Regions from separate parts of the Homo sapiens genome. Here regions 1, 2, 4, 5, 6 and 7 are each linked to region 3. The links are contacts of gene promoters, found by promoter capture Hi-C in blood cells and fetal thymus (Javierre and others, 2016). All regions are on one chromosome and are shown on one strand. Each heading gives the region's core, a stretch centred on a gene start or on the middle of the fragment in contact. The rest is flanking DNA. Distances are from core to core; before and after follow the strand shown. Region 1 overlaps OFD1 (OFD1 centriole and centriolar satellite protein). Region 2 overlaps CLCN4 (chloride voltage-gated channel 4). Region 3 holds the start of MSL3 (MSL complex subunit 3). Region 4 overlaps CLCN4 (chloride voltage-gated channel 4). Region 5 has its middle 7.4 kb from the start of WWC3. Region 6 overlaps WWC3 (WWC family member 3). Region 7 overlaps WWC3 (WWC family member 3).

The links. The method cuts DNA at HindIII sites, captures the fragments that hold promoters and counts their contacts. A CHiCAGO score of 5 or more calls a contact.
Region 1: a fragment that was not itself captured here is called in contact with the fragment with the promoter of MSL3 in region 3 in 1 of 17 cell types (non-activated CD4 T cells); the score reaches 6.7 in non-activated CD4 T cells.
Region 2: a contact is called between a fragment that was not itself captured here and the fragment with the promoter of MSL3 in region 3, in 2 of 17 cell types (neutrophils and monocytes). The highest score is 13.9, in neutrophils.
Region 4: a contact is called between a fragment that was not itself captured here and the fragment with the promoter of MSL3 in region 3, in 1 of 17 cell types (monocytes). The highest score is 5.4, in monocytes.
Region 5: a contact is called between a fragment that was not itself captured here and the fragment with the promoter of MSL3 in region 3, in 1 of 17 cell types (activated CD4 T cells). The highest score is 6.1, in activated CD4 T cells.
Region 6: a contact is called between a fragment that was not itself captured here and the fragment with the promoter of MSL3 in region 3, in 1 of 17 cell types (non-activated CD4 T cells). The highest score is 8.6, in non-activated CD4 T cells.
Region 7: a contact is called between a fragment that was not itself captured here and the fragment with the promoter of MSL3 in region 3, in 2 of 17 cell types (non-activated CD4 T cells and activated CD4 T cells). The highest score is 8.6, in non-activated CD4 T cells.

What each region holds. Positions count from the first base shown.
Region 1 is chrX:13,735,378-13,738,212 of GRCh38, reverse strand. It overlaps OFD1 (OFD1 centriole and centriolar satellite protein), which reads right to left. Exons shown (of 23, transcript NM_003611.3): 3 at 1,535-1,735. Among named protein-coding and RNA genes, the nearest start is that of OFD1, 2.0 kb to the right of the region's middle. RefSeq lists an enhancer at 2,552-2,835. The HindIII fragment of the contact is 741 bases long and covers 1,215-1,955 here.
Region 2 is chrX:10,186,811-10,189,780 of GRCh38, reverse strand. It overlaps CLCN4 (chloride voltage-gated channel 4), which reads right to left. Exons shown (of 13, transcript NM_001830.4): 4 at 2,167-2,266. Among named protein-coding and RNA genes, the nearest start is that of CLCN4, 31 kb to the right of the region's middle. RefSeq lists a silencer at 1-30. The HindIII fragment of the contact is 3,850 bases long and covers 1-2,970 here.
Region 3 is chrX:11,756,450-11,759,486 of GRCh38, reverse strand. It overlaps MSL3 (MSL complex subunit 3), which reads right to left and starts at 1,250. Exons shown (of 13, transcript NM_078629.4): 1 at 1,122-1,250. The coding sequence starts at 1,223. MSL3-DT (MSL3 divergent transcript) reads left to right here and starts at 1,404. Exons shown (of 2, transcript XR_007068393.1): 1 at 1,404-2,735. RefSeq lists an enhancer at 803-1,097 and silencers at 951-1,330, 1,341-1,490, 1,511-1,710. The HindIII fragment of the contact is 7,532 bases long and covers 1-3,037 here.
Region 4 is chrX:10,166,297-10,169,089 of GRCh38, reverse strand. All of the region lies in intron 2 of CLCN4 (chloride voltage-gated channel 4), which reads right to left. Among named protein-coding and RNA genes, the nearest start is that of CLCN4, 11 kb to the right of the region's middle. The HindIII fragment of the contact is 478 bases long and covers 1,201-1,678 here.
Region 5 is chrX:10,006,495-10,009,302 of GRCh38, reverse strand. No RefSeq gene overlaps it. Among named protein-coding and RNA genes, the nearest start is that of WWC3, 7.4 kb to the left of the region's middle. The HindIII fragment of the contact is 6,322 bases long and covers 1-2,808 here.
Region 6 is chrX:10,073,119-10,076,095 of GRCh38, reverse strand. All of the region lies in intron 4 of WWC3 (WWC family member 3), which reads right to left. Among named protein-coding and RNA genes, the nearest start is that of WWC3, 59 kb to the right of the region's middle. The HindIII fragment of the contact is 1,590 bases long and covers 613-2,202 here.
Region 7 is chrX:10,092,535-10,095,503 of GRCh38, reverse strand. It overlaps WWC3 (WWC family member 3), which reads right to left. Exons shown (of 24, transcript NM_015691.5): 8 at 1,223-1,372. Among named protein-coding and RNA genes, the nearest start is that of CLCN4, 63 kb to the left of the region's middle. The HindIII fragment of the contact is 2,141 bases long and covers 446-2,586 here.

The sequences.
Region 1 (2,835 bases), core at 336-2,835, 2.0 Mb before region 3:
CACAATAAGTAAAAGTATAAAGTGATTAGAAAGTTAGAGAATGATGTATCAAAAATGAATTCCAGGCCAGACACGAGGGCTCATGCTTGTTATCCCAGCTCTTTGGGAGATTGAGGTGGGCAGATCACCTGGGGTCAGGATTCGAGACCAGCCTGGCCAACATGGTGAAACCTCCTCTCTACTAAAAATAAAAAAGTTAGCCAGGTGTAGTGGTGGGCACCTGTAATCCCAGCTACTTGGGAGGCTGAGGCAGGAGAATTGCTTGAACACAGGAGGCAGAGGTTGCAGTGAGCCAAGACTGCGCCATTGCACTCCAGACTGGGTAACAGAGCAAGACTCTGTCTCAAAAACATAAATTAATAAATAAATTCCTAATGCTGACAAATAAAATTTGGTTGCTTATGAAGAAATGCAAATTATTTAAGTTTTCATTCAAATACTGTACTAAGCTTGTGTCACTAAAACTTTGGAATATGAAACTTTTGGATAATTACAGAAAACACAAAGAAAGTAAAAACATATGAACACCACCAAGAGTGAAATTTATTTTATTTTTGAGACAGTCTCGCTCTGTCACCCAGGCTGGAGTGCAGTGGCATGATCTCGGCTCACTGCAACCTTCACTGTAAACTATGGCCTCTGGGTGATAATGACATGTCAGGGTAGGCTTATAGATTGTAGCAAATGTACCACCTTGATGCAAGATGTTGACAGTGGGGGAGGCTATGAGTGTGTAGGGGCAGCAGGTATATGGGAATTCTCTGTACTTCCCACTTAACTTTGCTGTGAACCCAAAACTGCTCTGAAAAAATAAAGTCTATTAAAAAAAAAAAAACACGCACATATCCACAGGGAAAGTCTGCTGTATCTGCCTTTAAAATAATAAAGTAGTACTAATGTTCAACAGTAATGGTGAAGAAATATAGTTAAAATAATTAGAAAAGTAGTAAAAAAAAAAAACAAGTGTTTTTAATATTTGAGAACTTTACAGATTTTTTAAATTACGTATTTCTCACTTATCTAATTACAAAGAGAAACATCTGAAGAAACTAGTGCAGGAAAAAAAGAGCTCATGTTAGAGATCTAGATTTACCACCCTGCATTGTCACTTAAAAGTTACTTGATGTTGGGCAAATTGATTCACCTCTCCAGAGTCTGGTTCCTCATCCGTAACACACAAAACATCTGCAGTGTGCCTATCACAGTGCCAAGCTTACAGCAGACATTCAGCAGATTGGCAGAGTCTTATTAGACAAGATAGAGGATAGATAGATCAATTATAGGTCTGAAACATTTAGAGATTCTATACATCACTGTTTTATGTGAGACTAAATGAGACGCCAAGAAATTAATTTCAAATTTAGTACCCACTTGTTATATAACAAATATATTATGTGCAGGTACAATGTGAATTCAAAGAGGAAACAGAAATGGACCTAGTCGAGGAGCACTTAGCTATCATACAGCACTTTACTGTCAGCAGAGGAAGAACCTGTTAATAAAAACTTCAGAAACAGAAAAGGAAAGACTTTACCTTTTCTTTTGCCAAACCACTTTCTGGAAAGAAAACAGAAAGTGAATATTCATAGCCACATCTTTGTAAGTGATCTGCCACTAAAGAGTTAGAGGCGCCTATTAAGAGGGAGCTCCCTTCTACTGAAATGGACCGAGGCTGCAGTTCTCCACTCAATACAGGGTGCATCAACTCATGAATTAGCTGGTTTCGAAGTTGTGTCTAGCATAAAATAAAAACAAAAATAAAAAAGAAACACAAGGGAAAGAAATTTCAGCAGGACTGTTTCATTAGAGATATACACAGATGAGCTACATTCATTGGAAACCTTCCTTCTATTTCCATAATGGTTCTAGATCCATGGCCAGAAGTTAGAAACCTTCCCCTGCACACTTTGTCTTACCCCGTGAGACAAGCAGTCCAGTGGGTTCTAGAAAAAGCTTTCTTTCCCCAGCTTCCAAATGAAACGGGTGGTTAGCCAGATCCACTTGCAGACTCATAACTTCACTTCCCTAGAAGCCCATTTCAGCAGCTTACGATTGGGATATTAAGTATAGGAAAAAATTCTGCCACTTCATCACACCTCTGTGGACTGTTGGAGAATATAACCAAAATATTCAACAACAGGGGACTGCTATATACATTACAAAAATATCCAAAGATAAGCCTGTTGCCACTGAAAATGAAGATTTCAAAAAACTTTTAAGGAAACAGGGAAATGCTCACCATATAATTTAAATTAAAAAAGGATACATACACAGGATATAGCTACATATTTTAAACGTAAAATATGCTTTTGAAATGCATATTTCAATGAAAACACGTTGAGCTAATCCTACTCCTGGCTGTTAATCCAAATATAAAGCATACTAATAGGTATTTTCTGCCCAAACTAAACATTCATACATTTCAATATAGTTTAAAGATAAAATTTTTCATTTCCCAAACTATTATTAAGCAGTACACTAGTATTTTCTATATGGTGTCAATGTCCTTCATCCAAATGTATTACAAACCCACTTATTAATTTAGGAACCTATAAGCCATATTTATAAAACAAGCCTAATCTTACTGTGTTCATTATACAAATATTTCCTTCTCCTATCTTATTGTCAGTTCAATTAATTATTTGAATATGCTCCTTTAAGACGACTCAAACTCAACATTTTCTCAAACATTTTCAAGAGACTGTAATGTTTCAGGATACAGAGTTATTCGGGAATATAAAAATGTAATTCACCAATACAATCTATGTATCATACGATTATTAAAACCTAAACCTTGATTGAATTTGAACTACCTGTTACAGGTTACACTTGTAA
Region 2 (2,970 bases), core at 316-2,815, 1.6 Mb after region 3:
TGATAAGCACATGCGGAGATGCTGTGGGCCTACCCATGAGGGGAGTCCGAAGACAACAGCCACTGAGGGGACAGCCGGCCAGGCAGTGAGACCCCAGGTCCTCTCCACTGTTAGTCCAGCGAGGAAGGGGGAAGTGAGTGGGACGTGGCTCTCTGGCTGTCCCTTCAAAGTGCATCCAAATCAAAAGAACACTGTAGTCCCTTCATTTTCAGCATCACCCCATTCTCACCCTCCCATGTATTCCCCTGCTGACGTGCGCATGGGCTCTCCTTTGGCCAGTGGTGCTCACCCCTGGCTGCACATTACAATCACAGAGGGGAGGGGCAGGCTGTATTCAAGCTAGAGGTCCTCTCCAGAGATACTGTTTAAGTGAAGCCAGGGCAGCAGCATATTGTTTTTAATTCCCCCTCGTGAAAGAGCTGATGGAAATCAAGTGGATAATAAAGCCAGCTGGTCAAAATCAGATTAAAGTCAGCCCAGTTGGGCTCCTAGGTCAGTCAATGAATCTAAGCTGTGCCGTTATCAGAACATCTATTCCTGTTCTGAGTTTCTTCATTTACCCTATTTATTTCTCCTTCCTACGAGCCAAGAAAAATGACACACTATAAGGTTTTATCAATCTACTCTAAATAAGGACATCAAAATTCATAGCAAACTCCCACCTGGCCCACCTTCAAAGGCCTTTATAGAAGCAGTCAAGCAAAATTGGTCGTCCAATCCCTTGTGACAATGAAGTCTAATTTCCTGCCCTGGCTGCTGCCAGTACATGACGGGAAATGCCACTGGTAAAGGAAGGACAGGCTTGGAGAAACGGACAGACAGCATCTGTGACTAGTAGGAAAGAACTCCCCCTCTGAGCATTCCTCTTAGCTCTTTACGGAATGCTGAGGCAGGTGAGGGAGGTAGAGCCCTTCCCTGGCAACCAAGCCCCTCCTCCGATGAGCTAGGGAATAAATCAAGATCACCTGGAAACTGAAAGCCCCTGGAATCACAAAACTCTATCTGTGCCCCATTTGTGTTCTGTCCTTCTTAGACCACTTACTACATATATTCTGCCTGTGTTCTAGTCAATTCCCTGATCTGTTCTCTAACCATAACTATTATGTTGTTATATGCAGGGGATTTTTATTAAGGAAACCTCTTCGTCATGCCAAATTTTTTATTCTTAGACATTAACCTTCACAATCTCCTAAAAGGACATAAGTTTCAGGAAACTATTTCCCGGAAGGGCTGGTGCGTTTGATATTAAAAAGACGTGTTTCCCCTCCAGATAGCATCCATTTACTCTGGAAACATCTACTGCTCGCAAACACGGTGTTGGGATTCTAAAAAGGAAAGATGCAGAGTTCCTGAGGGTCAGGATGATGGAGGCCCCTGGGCCTGCCTCAGCTCCCGTGGGTGTCTAGCATGGTGCTGACTGTTGCAGGATGTTTCCAGTTCATCCCAGAGCCTACCAGTAGTAGCAAAAGGCAATCTCATATGACATTTTGTTATTGAAGATAAAACAGTCCCTGATTTTGTTGTCATCTACATAATCAAGAATAACCGAATATAAAATGTGTGCTTGGCTGGGCTCAGTGGCTCACACCTGTAATCCCAACACTTTGGCTGAGGCAGGAGGATGGCTTGAGCCCAGGAGTTTGAGACCAGCCTGAGCAACACAGTGAGACCCCATCTCTATGAAAAAATAACAAAAATTAGCTGAGCATGGTGGCGCATGCCTGTGGTCCTGGCTACTCAGGAGGCTGAGGTGGGAGGATTGTTCAACCCCGGGAGGTGGAGGCTGCAGTGAACTGGCATCATTCCACTGCCCTCCAGCCTGGGCAATGGAACAAGACCGTTTCCAAAAAAAATGTGTGTTTTCAGTCAAATCCGGTATAGTAAGAAAACTCTGCTCTGTGTGGAAAGGCTACCAGCTCTATCGTCACAGCTCTTCAGAAGCCTGTGCCTGAGCTCATGCCTTGGGCATGCCTTATTGATGATGGATTTTAGGTTAAATATACAGCCATGCATTTTGCCCTTAGATATTTCAAGTAATAAATCCCTCCCACAGGGGTAAAAGCGACAAGCGACACGCGCTATATTCCAAATCTCCCAGAGGGTTCGTGTTTTGAGGTTTCGGCCTCTGCAGCTTCCCACGGGAGTGCCGCATGCCCATCCACGTACCCGCCAGCAGGCCGATGAGCAGCATCACCACCCATCCCGACCAGGCATCCAGCAGGCTCTTGATGAACTCCCATATGGACTCCTTGCTCTTGCTGGTGATCTAGAACAAAGCAGATACAGCAACTGATCCGAATGCATTTTCGAATTCATGCTTTTTTCCTTGAAACTGTTTCCTCGGGAAACAGGGTAATTAAGAAAATAAAATGAATGTCATCAAGCAGCTAAATTCCCACTGATGTGATTCTTTCAGTTATGTGCCGCAACGGTACGACGAGCTTTCTAGTTCACAGAGCTATAAAGATGCCACAAAAGTCTCCAAAGAATTCGAGCACACACTCAAATAATTCACTTAATTAAAAAACATACTAAATGTGATTTGATCTTTGATGATTTAAAAGCTATGCTGAAGGGGGACATTGGTTCGGTGTCTCCATTCTGAATATGAGTTACTATCTTAACTTACATTGCTAAGTTTCATTAAAAAGCCTCTTCACACAGACTTCATCTCCTCCTTTTGTTTTCAAGGTTAAATTTTAGCAGCACGAACTTAGAATTAGCTGGCACAGATCACGTCTCCCACAGCAGATGGACTACCTACACACACCTCCCTGTGCTAACAGAATCCTATGCTCCTCTGAGATCATCATTCCCTCACGGCCTTTTAGAGCAGTGGTGGGCAAATGTTTTCTGTAAAGGACCAGAGAGTAAATATTTTGGGCTTTGCGGGCCGGATGGTCTCCGTTGCAACTCCTCAACCCTGCCACTGTAGCACAAAAGGAGTCATAAAAATATGGAAATGGATGG
Region 3 (3,037 bases), core at 1-2,500:
AGAGCTCTGGGAGTTGTAGTCTCCTGGGCTCCCCTATGTCCAGTGCCAGGATGGCTAGCTGGAGACTCTGGAATCCCTCCCTGTTGTGTCCCTAGAGGGAACAACTAAAACTAATGATGGGGCGTGCCCCCCCCCCTCCGCCCCGAGGAGGCTGGAGGGCGAGGAGAAAGAGGGATAGCAGACGCGGTTAAAAGACAGGAGCAGCAGGGGAGGGAACTGAAGGCAGAATATGCTCATCCCTTTAGGGATGTCCTTTAGCATCTCTAATGGACAGAGCTGTCCAGACATCGCCAAAGACACACCTGGGACTGCCCCTGTCCCTGCCGCCTAAGGCTTCGCCCAGGTGGCCCTAGGAACCCAGGTCTCTGAAATGAAAGCACCTGGGTGCTTTCCTTGGGGATCTGGGAGACCTGGTGCCAACTCCTGCCCGCCACCCAAATCTGAGGAGCTGCAAGATGTGGCTCAGCTCCCGGAGACTTAGGTGGACCGGCCCGGGGCGCGATTCCCATCAACTATGGTCAGACCCACGTAAATCCTTCAGAGTTTGAAAACGTAAATGCTGCAAGGCCCTGGGGTACGAAAACACTGGGCCAACCTTGCCCTCGGGATGGGGTTCACGGCCTACAGGCGGGATGGGGCCTAAACTGGACTAGGGTCCCAGGGACACAACGTCGCAAGTCAGCGGCCAGCGCCGTGTAACTATGAATTAGAACCTGGATCGGACGGCCAGGGCGTCCCACAGGAGCCCACCCGGCACCAGGCCGCACAGAAGGAGACATTTAACGCGAAGACAGAAACCGTATTCGAGAAGCCTCCTCCCTCAGCGGCCACCGTTGCAGTCGGGGGCGCAAACGGTAGCCCCGGTAACGCGACAAAGCATGGGCGAGGCTCCCAACCGCGCGTGCGCCGCCCGGCCTGACGGAAGGAAGTGGAAGCATCCCAGACCCCGCCCCGACTCCCGGGCGTAGCGCCCTGTGAGCGCCCCCTGCCGGCCGCACCGCTCCTCGCAGGCCGAGGAGCCCGGCCGGTCCCTCAGCTCCGCGCGGCCGTCCGCCCCCGCCCCCGCCCCCGGTCCCGGGTCCCCCAGCCCGCGCCTCCTCCCTGTCCCTCCGCGGCGGCACCTTGGCATCGTACAGCACTCGCGCCTTGGTGGGGTCAGGCTCGAAGCACAGCACTTTCTCCCCTGAGTGGAATTTAAATTTCATGCCCTCGCTCGCGCTCATTTGCTCATCGTGGCGGAGGGCGAGGCTCCGGGGCGGGCGGAGCGCGCGCGGTGGGGGAGGGCGGGCGGGGGCGGGGAGGCGGTGCGCCGTGGCCGGGGGGGGCCGGGAATGGCGGAGGCTGCGGCCGCCCCGCCCTCGGCCCCTCCTCCGCCCGCCCCGAGCCGCTGCCGGGACCTCGGAGGCGCCTGGCGCGCGCGCTCCCGCCCGGGCGCGTCCCCGCACGTCCCCGCCGGGGCTCCGGGAGGGGTGCGGGCGGGGAGCGCGACCCCCTGGCCAAGGTCTACCGGCAGGACGTCTCCCGTCGCCCCCATGGGAGAGGGTCCCCGCGGCCTCCAGGCTGCGCCCACGTGCGCGCAGGGTCGTCCGTCGCCCCGAGCGCCCGCTCTCCGGCCCGGGCGTGGGAGGCGCCTAGGGAGAGAGAGAGCCGGTCTGGAGTAGGCACCCGGCGGCCGGGAGGCTGGACGGCGTCTGCCCCCAAGAGCTCCCTGGCCGTGCGCGCCGCGTCAGCCCCCTTGGCAGAGCAGCGCGCCGATGAGTGTGGCCACGCTTGGAGAACGCAGCGCTGGAGCTGGCCCCAGGCGGGCAGTGGCCTCGGGCGAGGGCAGAAGGGCACTCCGGGCTGTGAATAGAACACTTGCTTATCCCTTCAGAGGACAAGCCGGTGGCAGGCCTGGAGCCCCCAGTGACGGGTTGAGCAGTGGGCAGCGAGGCAGATGGGTCCTTAAAGAGTAGCTGACGTCTTCAGTGTCAGCTTCTAGCGTGGCCTGACAGCCCCCAGCATCCCCGGAATGCCCCCCACGGTCTATCTGCTCCAATAGACTAAAAATTCCCTAAATAGAAGCACCCTTGAGGCCGCTATCAATATGGTACCTGCACAGAGTGGATGTTAAGTAAATACTTGATGAGCGAATGACAAGTGATGGGAGACTTGAAGGACAAACTTCCAGGGACAGGAAGGACAGTGCTGGGCTTTTTCTTTTGAGTTTTGGAAAGCCGTTGGGCAGTGTAATTACTGGATTAGGACCGGGCTGGAGACCAGCTTCCAGGCTAATCTCTGCGGACCTGGTGAACTTCCCCTTCTCTGTTCTAGCCTCCAGAAAGTTGCATTTGCTTCCCCTCTGCACGCTTCCTTCACCAGGTTCCTGGTATACATCCTTCACATTTCAGCGTGGGCATGCCAACAGAAAAGCCCTCAGGCTTCCCAAGATGAATCATAAAGCCCTGAGGTGTTCCCTCCCAGGACTCTGCTTAACCCCTTTCTTGCATGTACCACTGTGCTATAGAATGGGTTGTTCATTTGCAAAATGACCTCATTAAGACAGTAAGCTCTTTGAAGCTGGGGGTAGGGGTCTTATCCAATTCATCACGGCGTATTCGTGGCACATAATATGGAATGAATGAACAGATTGATTTAGGAAATAGAACCCACAAAACTCAGTGGCCAATTGGATGTGAAGGAGAGGGAAGGAGGAATCTTGAGAGACTTCCAGGTTTTCTGGCCCAAGGAATTGGGTGAGTAATAGCTGCATCCGCCAGAATAAGGCTATACAGAGGAGTTAAAGGTTGGGGGAAGATGGTCAAATGGCCTTTGGGGTAATACGGTGCAGAAACTAGAACTGGAACCATGATTCCTCTCCAGGTTGTGGTGTATCAGAGATGAGAACAGTAGATGGTGGTGTTCCCCACAAATGGCAGGGGCGGCTTGGAAGCACATGTAATTGCACGTCCTGTGTAAACCGTAACTGAAGTATTCACCTTTTTATTTTTCCTGCCCATGATTGGAGAGAGTTCTGCTGCAGGCTCTACCCTTTCAG
Region 4 (2,793 bases), core at 190-2,689, 1.6 Mb after region 3:
ACAAAAAAATGAAGAAAACTACACCAAGGCATAGCATAATCGAACTGTTAAACAAGTGAAAAAGAAGATCTCTTAAAAGCAGTGACAGAAAAGAGACACTTTACATACAAAGAAAGCTATTAGGCTATACAGGGCTATGAGGAGGAAAGAGGTACCACTCCATCCCATAATAAGAATGAAGCTCACAAGCCTAATGTCAAGTAAAAGAAAGACACAAAGAAAAGCAGACACAAAGGGATCCGAGATTCCATCCCTATAAAGTTCCAAACAAGCAGAAGGAACCAGTGGCGTTATTCAGGATAGCAGTTACCCTTGGAAGGGGACATGAGGGTGGCTTCTGGGAACTGGTCATGTTCCATTTCTGGATCTGGGCACTGTTACCCAGGTGTGTTCACCTTGTGACAATTCATCAAGCTGCACGCTTACCTTTTGTGCACTTTTCTGCACATGGATTTCAATTAAAAGTTGACCAAAGGCAACCCAAACAAGCCATCAGCTGGAGTTAAATCTCACTGCTTCACTTTACAAAAGTGAGGTTTTTCATTGGCATGCTTGCAACACTTCTTTGAAGTGCCCGTGAAATACTTTCTCTTTTCAAACACCCATTGCATCCTCTCTTGCAAAAATGACCTCCCACTGAAATAATTGAGGTCAGAAGTCTGAAAGCCCTGACAAAGCAAAGGCGCTGGAGTTGGCAAATCCCCTGTGCAGCGGGCAGAGGACACGGGCTCCACATTGCATTACAGGCTGTGGCGTGTTTCCCTGGTGCTGGAGGAAAAGGGGGCTGCTCGCATCAAAAATGACATCCCGCATCTGCAAAGGCCGAATGCCCAAAGTAACGCCCAGACAGCCAAACCCCACTGGCATTTGGGGAATATTTTACTGAAGCCTCCAGGCTATAAAGAGATACACAGGATATACATTTTCATGAAATACAGACCGTTGCCCATTTACTAAAAATCTATATATCCAAACTCATCCTCAATATGCCCTAATTTATCATCAATAGACCTAAACTTTGCATGAAGCTCCTCTCCTCTCCAACCTAGGAAGGAAAGAGAGAGAAAATACCATGAACAAATATGGAACGATCAGAGAAAAGTGGAGCTTCAGAAGGGGCAAAACGAAGGCAGCTATGGCCAGAGCCTGGGGAGCTGACCCAAGGAGAGACCAGCACTGGGCCTCCCCTCCAAGAAAGCTTTGGACCATTACTAGTCATTTCAGTTATCTGAAGCTGCATCACTAATTACCATTTACACTGACCATTCACACGGTTTCTATGTGTCAGGAAGTGGGGAGCAGTGTGGCTGGGTCTTTCTGGCTCAGCGTCTCTCAGGAGGTTGTGGTCAGGATGTCAGCCAGGGCTGCTGTCATCTGAAAGTTGGACGGGGGCTCCCTCACATAGCAACCAACTTGCTCGCTGGCATCCCCACAGGATACCCTGAATGTCCCCACGACATGGCAGTTGGCTTTCTCTAGAGGGGGTGGTCCAAGAGAACCAGGAGGGTCTCTAATGACCTAGCTTTGGAAGTCACACACTGTCGCTTCCACGGTATCCTATTGGTGACACAGGTCAGCCCTGAATGGTTCCATATGGGAGGGGACCACACATGAGCATGAACACCTGGAGGTAGGATGGTCGAGGCCCATCTTGGAGGCTGGCTCCAATACAAAAGCTTTTCACTGCCTTATTCCACCTTGCCTGAAACCCCAGGAATTTCATTTTCATTTGTAATCATTTTGAGTCTTGCTTTTAAAATGCGGGCACCTTTAGGATGATGAGGTGGCCAGGACTCATTCCACCCCTTCTAGCTAACCCTCCAAACACCAGAGGGGAGAAGACAGGAAGGCACTGACAGTGACGGGAGCCAGGTGGTGGCCCCCAGTGAGGGGTGGAGGGCCACACGACCAAGGAGTTTCAAACAGGGGGAAGCTCAGAGCAAAAGGATGTTCAGAAAGAAACTGTGCCTGTTTCAAAATTCTGCCTCGAACCAGCGGAGACACTTCCTTTTTCCTCCTCCCACTTCCTCCCCGGCCCCGGCCCTGCCCCCAGCACTCCCTGTGTTCCTTCAATCACAGTCTGGCTTCCATAGGACTAGGCAGCTGTTGTGTGACCATGGCAGGCTTCCTATGGACCCAGGGCCATGCAGCCATTCGTTCCACGTTGAAACCCAGCCCACGTGTTGGAAATAGGATGAGGCCAACCACATGTGGCCTCGGGTGACACAATGGCCTCAGTGTTCTCACACCCCCATCCCAGGGACAGGAGGGCTGGGCTGTGAGGTGTTTGTGTTGCTGGTGCCAAGAGCCAAGGGTTTGGAATTTCCCCAGAGACTTCTTCCCATAATAATAGTCACAACGCCTTTGTACAGGGCTCCGTGTACCTGGCTTCATTCTAAGCACTTCCCCCGTGTATGAAGTACCGCCTCCCTCAGGCCCACGTTACAGATAAGTTACAGATAAGCAAACTGCGGCACAGAGGTTAAGTCTCACACACAGTGAGGGGGCAGCTGGATCCAGCCCAGGTCCCAGGGGCCTTTCTCCACAACAGCAGGCAGGCCTCTGCCACCTCAGGACCCAGAGCCATGTGCCTCCATGGAGAGGGCACTGGGGGCCACGTTTCTCCTACACCGTGTGAGAATAGCTTAATTAAAGGCCCCTGGGTCGCGCTCTCATGCATCCACAAAAAAATGCTGCTGCACGTGCTTGCTAGGGCTGCCGTAACCAAGCACCACGGACTGGGTGGCTCAGATAACAGAAAAGGGTTTTCTCCCAGTTCCGGAGGCCAGAAGT
Region 5 (2,808 bases), core at 101-2,600, 1.8 Mb after region 3:
AACTCCTGGGCTCAAATGTGTAATTTATGAGAACATTTATACTGCCCAAACTTTATAGTGGGAAAACAAGGCTCAGAGAATGTAAGTAACTAGCCTGGTATGACCTGGCCAGTGCTAAAATGCATCAGCCCTAAGACTAAAGCCCAGCTATCCCATCTGACCTCCTGTATTCATCAGGGATGTATAGACAAATAGCTCCAATATATATATATCCAAACTCTCTCTCTCTCTCTCTCTCTCTCTCTCACACACACACACACACACACAGAGAGAGAGAGAGAGAGAGAGAGAGAAAGAGGCAGACAGAGAGAGATATTTATCATAAAGAATTGGCTCATGGAATTATGGAGGCTGACAAATCCCAGGATCTGCAGTTGGCAAGCTGGAGAGCTGATGATGGCACAGTTCCAGTCCAAGTCTGACAACCTGAAAACCAGGAGAGCTGATGGTGTCAGTTCCAGTCTGAAAGTGAGCAGGCTTGAGATCCAAGAGGAGCCAATGTTTCAGTTTGAGTCCAGAGGCAGGAAAAGCCCAACATTCCAGCTCAAGCAGTCACACAGCAAGAGCACCCTCCTACCCAGCCTTTGTGGTCCAGCCAGGCCTTCAACTGATTGGGCAAGGCCCACCGACACTGAGAAGGCAGTCTACAATTCAAATGTGGATGTCATCCAGAAACACCCTTACACACACACAACCAGAGTAATGTTTGACCAAATATCTGGGCACCCCGTGGCCCAGTGGCCCAGTCAAGTTGACACATGAAATTAACCATCACACCTCCTGACTTTATAACTAGTTGTTCTTTGTTTCTATGACTCTTTCTTTCTTTCTCTCTCTTTTTTTTTTCAGGTAGTGTCTCACTTTGTCACCTAGGCTGGAGTGCAGTGACGCAAACATGGCTCACTGCAGCCTCAATCTCCCGGGCTCAAGCAATCCTCCCCGCTCAGCTTCCAGAGTAGCTGAGACCACAGGCACAAGCCACCATGCTCGGCTAATATTCTAACTTTTTGTAGAAATGGGGTCTCACTATGTTGCCCAGGCTGGTCTCAAACTCCTGGACTCAAGAGATCTGCCCACCTTGGCCTCCCAATGTGCTGGGATTCCAGGCGTGAGCCACTGCACCTGGCCTGTTTCTAGGACTCTTTCTGCTCACAGTGTGGCTCGTGGACCAGCAGCGGCAGCATCACGGGGGAACTCATTGAAATGTCCACCCCAGGGCTGTTAGTTTAAGAAGCATCATATTACACCCCATGGAAGAGGATGGTGTGGGGGTGTAGGCATCTACAAAAACTTACTTTACAATATCGATTCACAGAGCCATCTGGGTAGTATTTGCCTTACTTCACCTCATAATCAAGAGGGGTTTATTTATCATTTAAGAGGTGCCAAGCCCTATGGCAATCCCTGAGCAAAGTGTAATCACAAGCCACTTTCACACTTGCTCTGCATGATAAGCACATTGAAGAGCCTGGATCTGTTTGTGACTCAGCTTTAGGCTTGCACAGTAATATACAGTTCAACTTCCCTGGCCCAGAAGTAGAAATGGAGAAGAAGCCAGCTGCAGGCCAACCACACTGTAACAGAGCTTGATTTTTGCCTTAGCTTACTATGCGTCTCCCCTGCCTGATGTCCCAACCCAGGGTCAGCTACATAGTTTGTGCTCTACGTTTTGCAGTGCAAAATGAAAACGCAGGACCCCTTGTTCCAAAAAAAAAAAAATCTCAAGAATTTCCAGATGGTAACAGTGGACCACTACAATAAGCACAAGCCCTTTGGAGCACAGTACCCTGTACAATTGCACAGGCAGCAGCCTTTGAAGCCGGCTCTGTCCATACCTTTCACTTCTAGTCAGGTGACCTTTGAAAATTCCAAAGAAACAACAATTTTCAGTGACAGCAGAGGAGATTGTTTTTGAGAATGGGACTCTGTCCCTGCAAATCAAACTACTTGCTGCCCAAGCCTTCTCTGCCAGCCCAGGTACTTCCCCGAGGTCAGCATGACCCCGTTGGCAGGAAGAACCTCCACTGCTCTTGACTCTCTTGGGTCCCTGGTGCTGGGGGTTGAATTGTGCTCCCCCACCCAAAAAAAGGATACGCTGAGGGCCTAGCCCTGGGTACATGTGGATGTGGCTTTATTTGGAAATGGGGTATTTGTAGATGCAGTTACTTAAGATGAGGTCATACTGGAGTAGGGTGGGCCTTTAATCTAATATGACTGGTGTCATATCATAAGGGAGGGCAGAAGGAACGCAGACACCAGGGTCATGTAAAAATGGAGGCAGAGATTGGAGTAATGAGGCCACAAGGCAACGAATGCCAAGGATTTCTGGCAAGCACCAGAAGCTGGGAGAGAGGCATGGAACAGATTCTACCCTGGAGCCTTCGGAGAGAGAGTGGCCCTGCCTCACACCTGCATTCCAGGCTTCTGGCCTCCAGAACTGTGAGAGAATCCATTTGTGTAGGTTTAAGCCATCAGTTTGTGGTCCTTTGTTACAGTGGCGCTAGGAAACTAACATGCCTGGAACCTTGCCCCCAGGCTCCTGCTGCTGCTTCAGTAGGGAACAGAGTCTATAGAACTCTGTTCACAGGGTCCCAATCAGTGCTGGGAAATCACAGGAAACAGAAGCCTGCCATGAAAGCCCCCAGAGATCCCACCAAACCCAGGAGCCCCAGGCATGACATGCTGGACCTCTCAAGTACATGCCGTAAACTGTAGCAGCCATATCCAGTGTAGACCAGAGGCAAACCACAAATGCCCACATTGGCCATGAGTTGCCCAAAGTTCAGATTTACCTTGGATCCCTGGCTA
Region 6 (2,977 bases), core at 158-2,657, 1.7 Mb after region 3:
GATAAGGGAAAAGTCTACTCAAGTAACTAACACAGTGAATACATTTTATCTTCAAATACTAAGGATGGTTGTGAACACTGGCATAACTTTTAATAATGTAATTAAATTTATAAATAAAATTCTCAGTTCCTCAGATCTGCCAATAAGACTACTAGAACCATTTACAGAGTCCAAGAACAGATCAGGACTCCAGACCTCATAATAGCGTGTACTACACAACACTTCTTTTCTTTTGGAGACAGGGTCTCACTCTGTCACCCAAACCAGAGCACAGTGGTGTGATCTCAGCTCACTGCAAACTCCACCTCCTGGGTTCAAGCGATCCTCCTGCCTCAGCCTCCCAAGTAGCTGGGATTACAGGCGCCGCCACCACACCCGGCTAATTTTTTGTATTTTTAGTAGAGATGGGGTTTTGCCACGTTGGCCAGACTGGTCTGGAACTCCAGACCTCAAGTGATCCACCTGCCTCAGCCTCCCAAAGTGCTGGGATTACAGGAGTGAGCCACCGTGCCCGGCCTTCCACAACATTTATAAACGGAGTATCTTCCTCTATTAAGACATGTCTCCAATCTCGAGGTTTATGCTAAAGACCAGACTTTCACCTCTGAAGCTTTCTTCTCTCTTGAAGAGTTAAGTGGGCAGAGCTATTAAATAGCATATGGAGTCTGCTCAGGCATACAACATTGCCTCAGATAATATAATAACAAGGTTATAGCCTAGCTGGACCACAGCAATGTAAATTATTATACCTTGCTATTACAGGGTGCCTTTCACATTTATTTAATCTATTCTCATAAAATCTTTGTGAAGGTGAAATGATACTTATGTGTCCTTGCCCATTTTATAGATTAAAAGACTGAGTCTGTAGTGACTTGATCTATAATACATTATGCCATCATTCATAGAGGGCTTCATGTCTAGAATCTGGGCTCCGGTGGGTCAGCTGCCAAAGATCCTTTAATTGGGCTAGCTTTCCCAGAAGAAGAAACGGTCCTCCAGCTCCCCAGTGCCCACCACCCAACAGGTGAACTTGACCTGTGTATTTAGGACTCAAAATGCTGCAAACCCCAGTACTTAACTCTGGATTTCAGTTTGACAGATTACTGAAAGGGGAAATGTGTGTGTCCATGAGTCTGTTTGTCTTTGTCTCTCTTATGTACAGGCGTCTTCTGAGCTATGGGTACCTAAGGTCACCCCAGAGACAAGACATGCTTTAAAAGACCAGCAGTCCTTCTTCAAAGACATCCTCTGGAGCAGGTTGCTCCTTAGGACCAGGTGTAGGCCTCCAGGGATCAGCACTGTCAGGAGTTGCTCAAGGGAGCCAAGAATGACTCTGGGCAAAAGGCCGACAAGCCCTGACAGGTTCCAGGTTGACAGGTACTATCTACCAGAGAGGCACATGGAGAAATACGCAAGGCCAACAAAGCGGGCAGGATGGGTTTTTTTTAAGGCAATATAAGCAAAAGACCAAAAACAATCAAGTAAGGCCACCTGGGGGTGATCTACAGAAGTAACCCAAGAAGCCACCAAATCCTAACCAGGAATTCTCCCTCCAGGACAGACTAGGGGATTATTTCTCAGGAAACACATGTGCTTTGCTGCAACCTCCAAAATCTGGCTTGCTGACTAATACATGGGAAAAATGCTCCATGATCCTTTTTTCTCCTGCCTGCTCCAACATGCGTGTGTGAAGGAAAACAAAAGGTTGAATTGGAATGGATTGCCTGTAGCCCTGTTCCTAACCAAAGACAGCAAATGAGAAATCCTTCAACAGCGAGAGCCCCAATGAGGCCGGGTGCGGTGGCTCATATCTGTAATCCCAGCACTTTGGGAGGTAGAGGCGGGCAGATCTCTTGAGTCCAGGAGTCTGAGACCAGCCTGGGCAACATGGCAAAACCCCATCTCTACAAAAAGTACCAAAATTAGCTAGGTATGGTGGCGCACATCTGGAGTTTCAGCTACTCAAGAGGCTGAGGTAGGAGAATCGCCTGAGCCCGGGAGGTTGAGGCTGCAGTGAGCCAAGATCACACTACCACACTCCAGCCTGGGCAACAGAGCAAGATCCTGTCTCAACAACAACAACAACAAAAAAACAAAAAAACAAAAAAAAAAAAACAGAGCACCAATGGAAGAGTCATTGTGAGACAGGCTTGGAGCCTCAGAAGGAATGCTGGCAAGGCTGATGGCTGATAAGGTCAAGCTTCACCACCACCTAATCCAAGAACTCAGGGTGGATCAGCACTTTCTCACCAGAGATAACGCTGCCTCTTTCCTAGCCACCCAGAAAGACTTTCAATGTAGACTTTGAGTAACTCCTAGGAACTAGGATAATAAACAAAGTCATATTCCTGCTGCTACAAGGGCCATTCACACTCTGTCTAGCCCAGTGGATTTCAACCCTGGGGATCACCTGGGAAGCTTAAAAAAAAAAGCCTGGTCCCACCCAAGGCCAGTTCTATCAAAATCTCTTGGGGTGAGGTCCAAGCAGCAAGTTTTTAAAGATTCTAGCTTGCAGCCAGGTCTGAGAACTATGGGTATAGACCAGGAATTAGCAAACTTTTTCTCTAATGGGCCAGACCCTAAATATTTTTGACTTTGTGGGCCATACAATCTGTCTCAAATACTCAATTCTGCCACTGTAGCTGCTACAGACAATAGGTTACTAAATGGACATGGCTGTGTTCCAATAAAACTTTATTTACAAACACCCACAGTGGATAGGATCCAGCCCACAGGCTTGACATAGTTTGCAGACCTGAGGTTTAGACTATTATCCTACCCCATGCAAGAATTTCTTCCAAAAGATCCTGCAAATGGTCATATATAGTTCATCTGAATGTGCCTGGGGCTAGAGTTTCTCAGGAAGAATAAAGGAATAACTCCAGGAAAAAATGTGTCTGAGATAATGAACGTATTCAGTGTTAAAAGGCAGGCAAATAGAAGAACATGTTGCAATAAAGAAAGTAGAAGAAAACTC
Region 7 (2,969 bases), core at 267-2,766, 1.7 Mb after region 3:
ATCTTTACGCAAAAATGCCAAACATTTTTGAATTACAGATTCTCCTCTGTGTGTTACAGATGGCGACCATATTCTTTCATCCAAAGAAGATGCCTAGTCAAAAACGGCCAAGTGTACGTTTGGAACAACGCAGGCAAATTTGAAAATAGGACTGTTCCAGGACACCCAAGACATAAAGGGCCGTGATTTCCTACATTATACTCCACTCGAAGAGGCACTAGTTGCTAAGATTTCAAAATATTAATTAGCTAATTATTTAAAACCCAGAGTTTTCCATCAATTGTTTTTTCCTCCTTTTGTTGCTTTCCTTTTATTTATTTAATTTCGGGGGAGGGGTGGCACTGTGCATTCCATTGATACCTCATCTTTACTTAATAATCCTTAAAAAAAAAAAAAGAAGCTCTTTAAACTGTTTTTCCATTTGGTAACAAATTAATGTCAAGCTTCACTCAATGATATTACAATACTAGCGTCTTTGAATATCCACCATCCTGCTTCAAATGGTGATTTTCCCAACTTTGTTTTTGTGGCTAACTCAAGGCTTCGCTAATTAACAAAGGAGGCATTATGACATTCTTCCAAGTCTCAAACAAAAATGACTTTTAGTTCAATTCAATTTCCTGACATTCTTTTAGAAGAGTAAGAAACAGCAATAAAGTAACACCCAAGGTGGCACAGCTATAAAGCCTTTGGAAATCAGTGGTCTAAGGCAGGAATCAGTAACTATGGCCCTGGGGCCAAATCCAGCCCACTGGCTGTTCCGTAAGTGAACGTTTGAGCAGCTCGAGGCCCCAGTCTTACATGCTTGCAAGGCATCTCTGTTATGGCTGCATGTACACTACAATGACAGGGTGGGGCAGTTCCAGCAGAACTACCTGCAAAGCCTAAAATAGTGACTATATTTACTATCTGGCCCTTCACAGAAAAAGCGTGGGGACTCATGCTCTAAAAAGTGATATGTCTGTCAAAAGAACAGTGAAACTCAACTCTCACAAGGAGTATGTCATTTATAAGAGTCCAAATCATAAGGGCAGCAGTAATAAGCAATTCAATTGTATCACACAGCTGGATGTGAGACACAACACTTTTTCTTCAAACTTAATGGCACAAAAGTGAAGGCATTTCTTAAGTGAACATGGAAAATTACACCAAACCAGTGATGGCAACACTGAAGCAGCCCTCCCCTCTCCCGGTGCATTTCTCCCCCTGGGCGCGCATATACCTCCCCGATGATATCAGTCTGGGAGCCGGCATCGCAGAACTGCTGGGGTACACCAGCATCGCCAGGCACGCCTACATGGTGAGGGAAGTCCACTAGAGAGTCGGTAACGGAGCAGCTGTTCTTGAAGCTATCGGTCAGCTTGGCCAGGCTCTGGAACACAATGAGACAAGCTCTTTGAACGGAGATGGTGATGTGTCTCTTCCCTCCAGAAGTGGTTCTCTCATTTGTTTTAGGTCTGCTGCATTATTTATTACTGAACAGTTGCCCCACCTCACCCCCATGCTCGTTAGATTTCACATAAATGCCCTTCATCACAGGCACCTCTAATAAAATTCTTAGTCATTTAAATCACATCGCAACTAAGTCCCCCTGGCAGCATGTGAATAAAATAGAGGACAATTATGGTACCATTTTTACTGGTTCTTAAACCTTCATGTTTCCTAAAGAAAAAAATAAGTATTTCTATCGAAAATGTAAATGAGCCTGACAGAGATGAATGCTGCCTTGAGATTGTTACAGAGGAAAAACAGGGAAGGGGAAAACAGCTCCCAGACAATGCTTACGTATTTCTTTTTCAGTTCTTTGAGTTGCTGTTTTAGCTTACGTATTTTTATAAACCTCATTTCTCAGTCATAATTCTACATGGTCAAAAGTAATCTCATATGTATGTTGGTTTGCCAAAAATTAGAGTTAGTATGCATTCTGGCACATGAAATCTCTCTGTGTGGCAGTTTTAAGCAGAAATCAGAATTCTGATTTTTTTTTTTTTTTTTTTTTTTTTTGAGAGAGGGTCTCACTCTATCACTCAGGCTGGAGTGCAGTGGCACAATCATAGCTCACCGTAGCCTCGACCTCCTTGGCTCAGGTGATCCTCCGACCTCAGCTTCCTGAGTACTTGGGACTACAGGTATGCCACCACACCCAGCTAAACTTTTGTTTGTTTGTTTGTTTTTGTAGAGACCAGGTCTCACTATGTTGCCTGGGCTTTTCTCAAAGTTCTGGGCTCAAGCTATCCTCCTGCCTCAGCCCCCCAAAGTGCTGAGATTATAAGCATGAGCCACTGCACCCAGCCAGAAATCAGATTTTTGACCATTTCTTTTAGACTTCTGAATATATTCACTTTCAGCAAATTTTACTACAGACACCAGAACCAAAAATGCCCAAGTGCAGTAGAACTCACAAAACTGGCTTGAGATTGAGATAAGGCCTTCTTGGGAGGGGCCAATATTGTTAAGTTCACATAAGAAAGGCAAAACAACTTATTTAACCTGGATAGAAGAGGACTCTGCCTGTGCCTCTTCCTGGAGCTTCTCAGAGTTTGAGAGGCTATGGAGACGTCAAAGAAGGTGCTCGAGCCTGAAGCTTCTTCCAGAAATTCTATCTGTTGCCTCCACGGTGGGAATTCAAGCAAGGCAAATGAGTGGCTGGCCCTGGTGCTGCACACGGTGGCCTCAGAGAGGCCGGGGCAGGCAGCCCTGCTTGGCCTCATGGCGTAAAGCCTCTGTGTCTCCACCATGGAACACCACATGGTTCAGCCTGCGGTATTGACGATGGGTAACAAACATGGGGCATCTTGTTTGATGTCAGCTGAGCAGAGACCTCAATAAATGGTAGCTGTTCTCAGTGCTACCTGTGTGCCAAAAAAAAAAAAAATCTAACAATTAACCATTTACTTATCACAACCTGGAGAGGTCATCTGAAAATAGATTCCTAGGCCCTACCTCCAGAGATTCTAATTCAGTGAGTC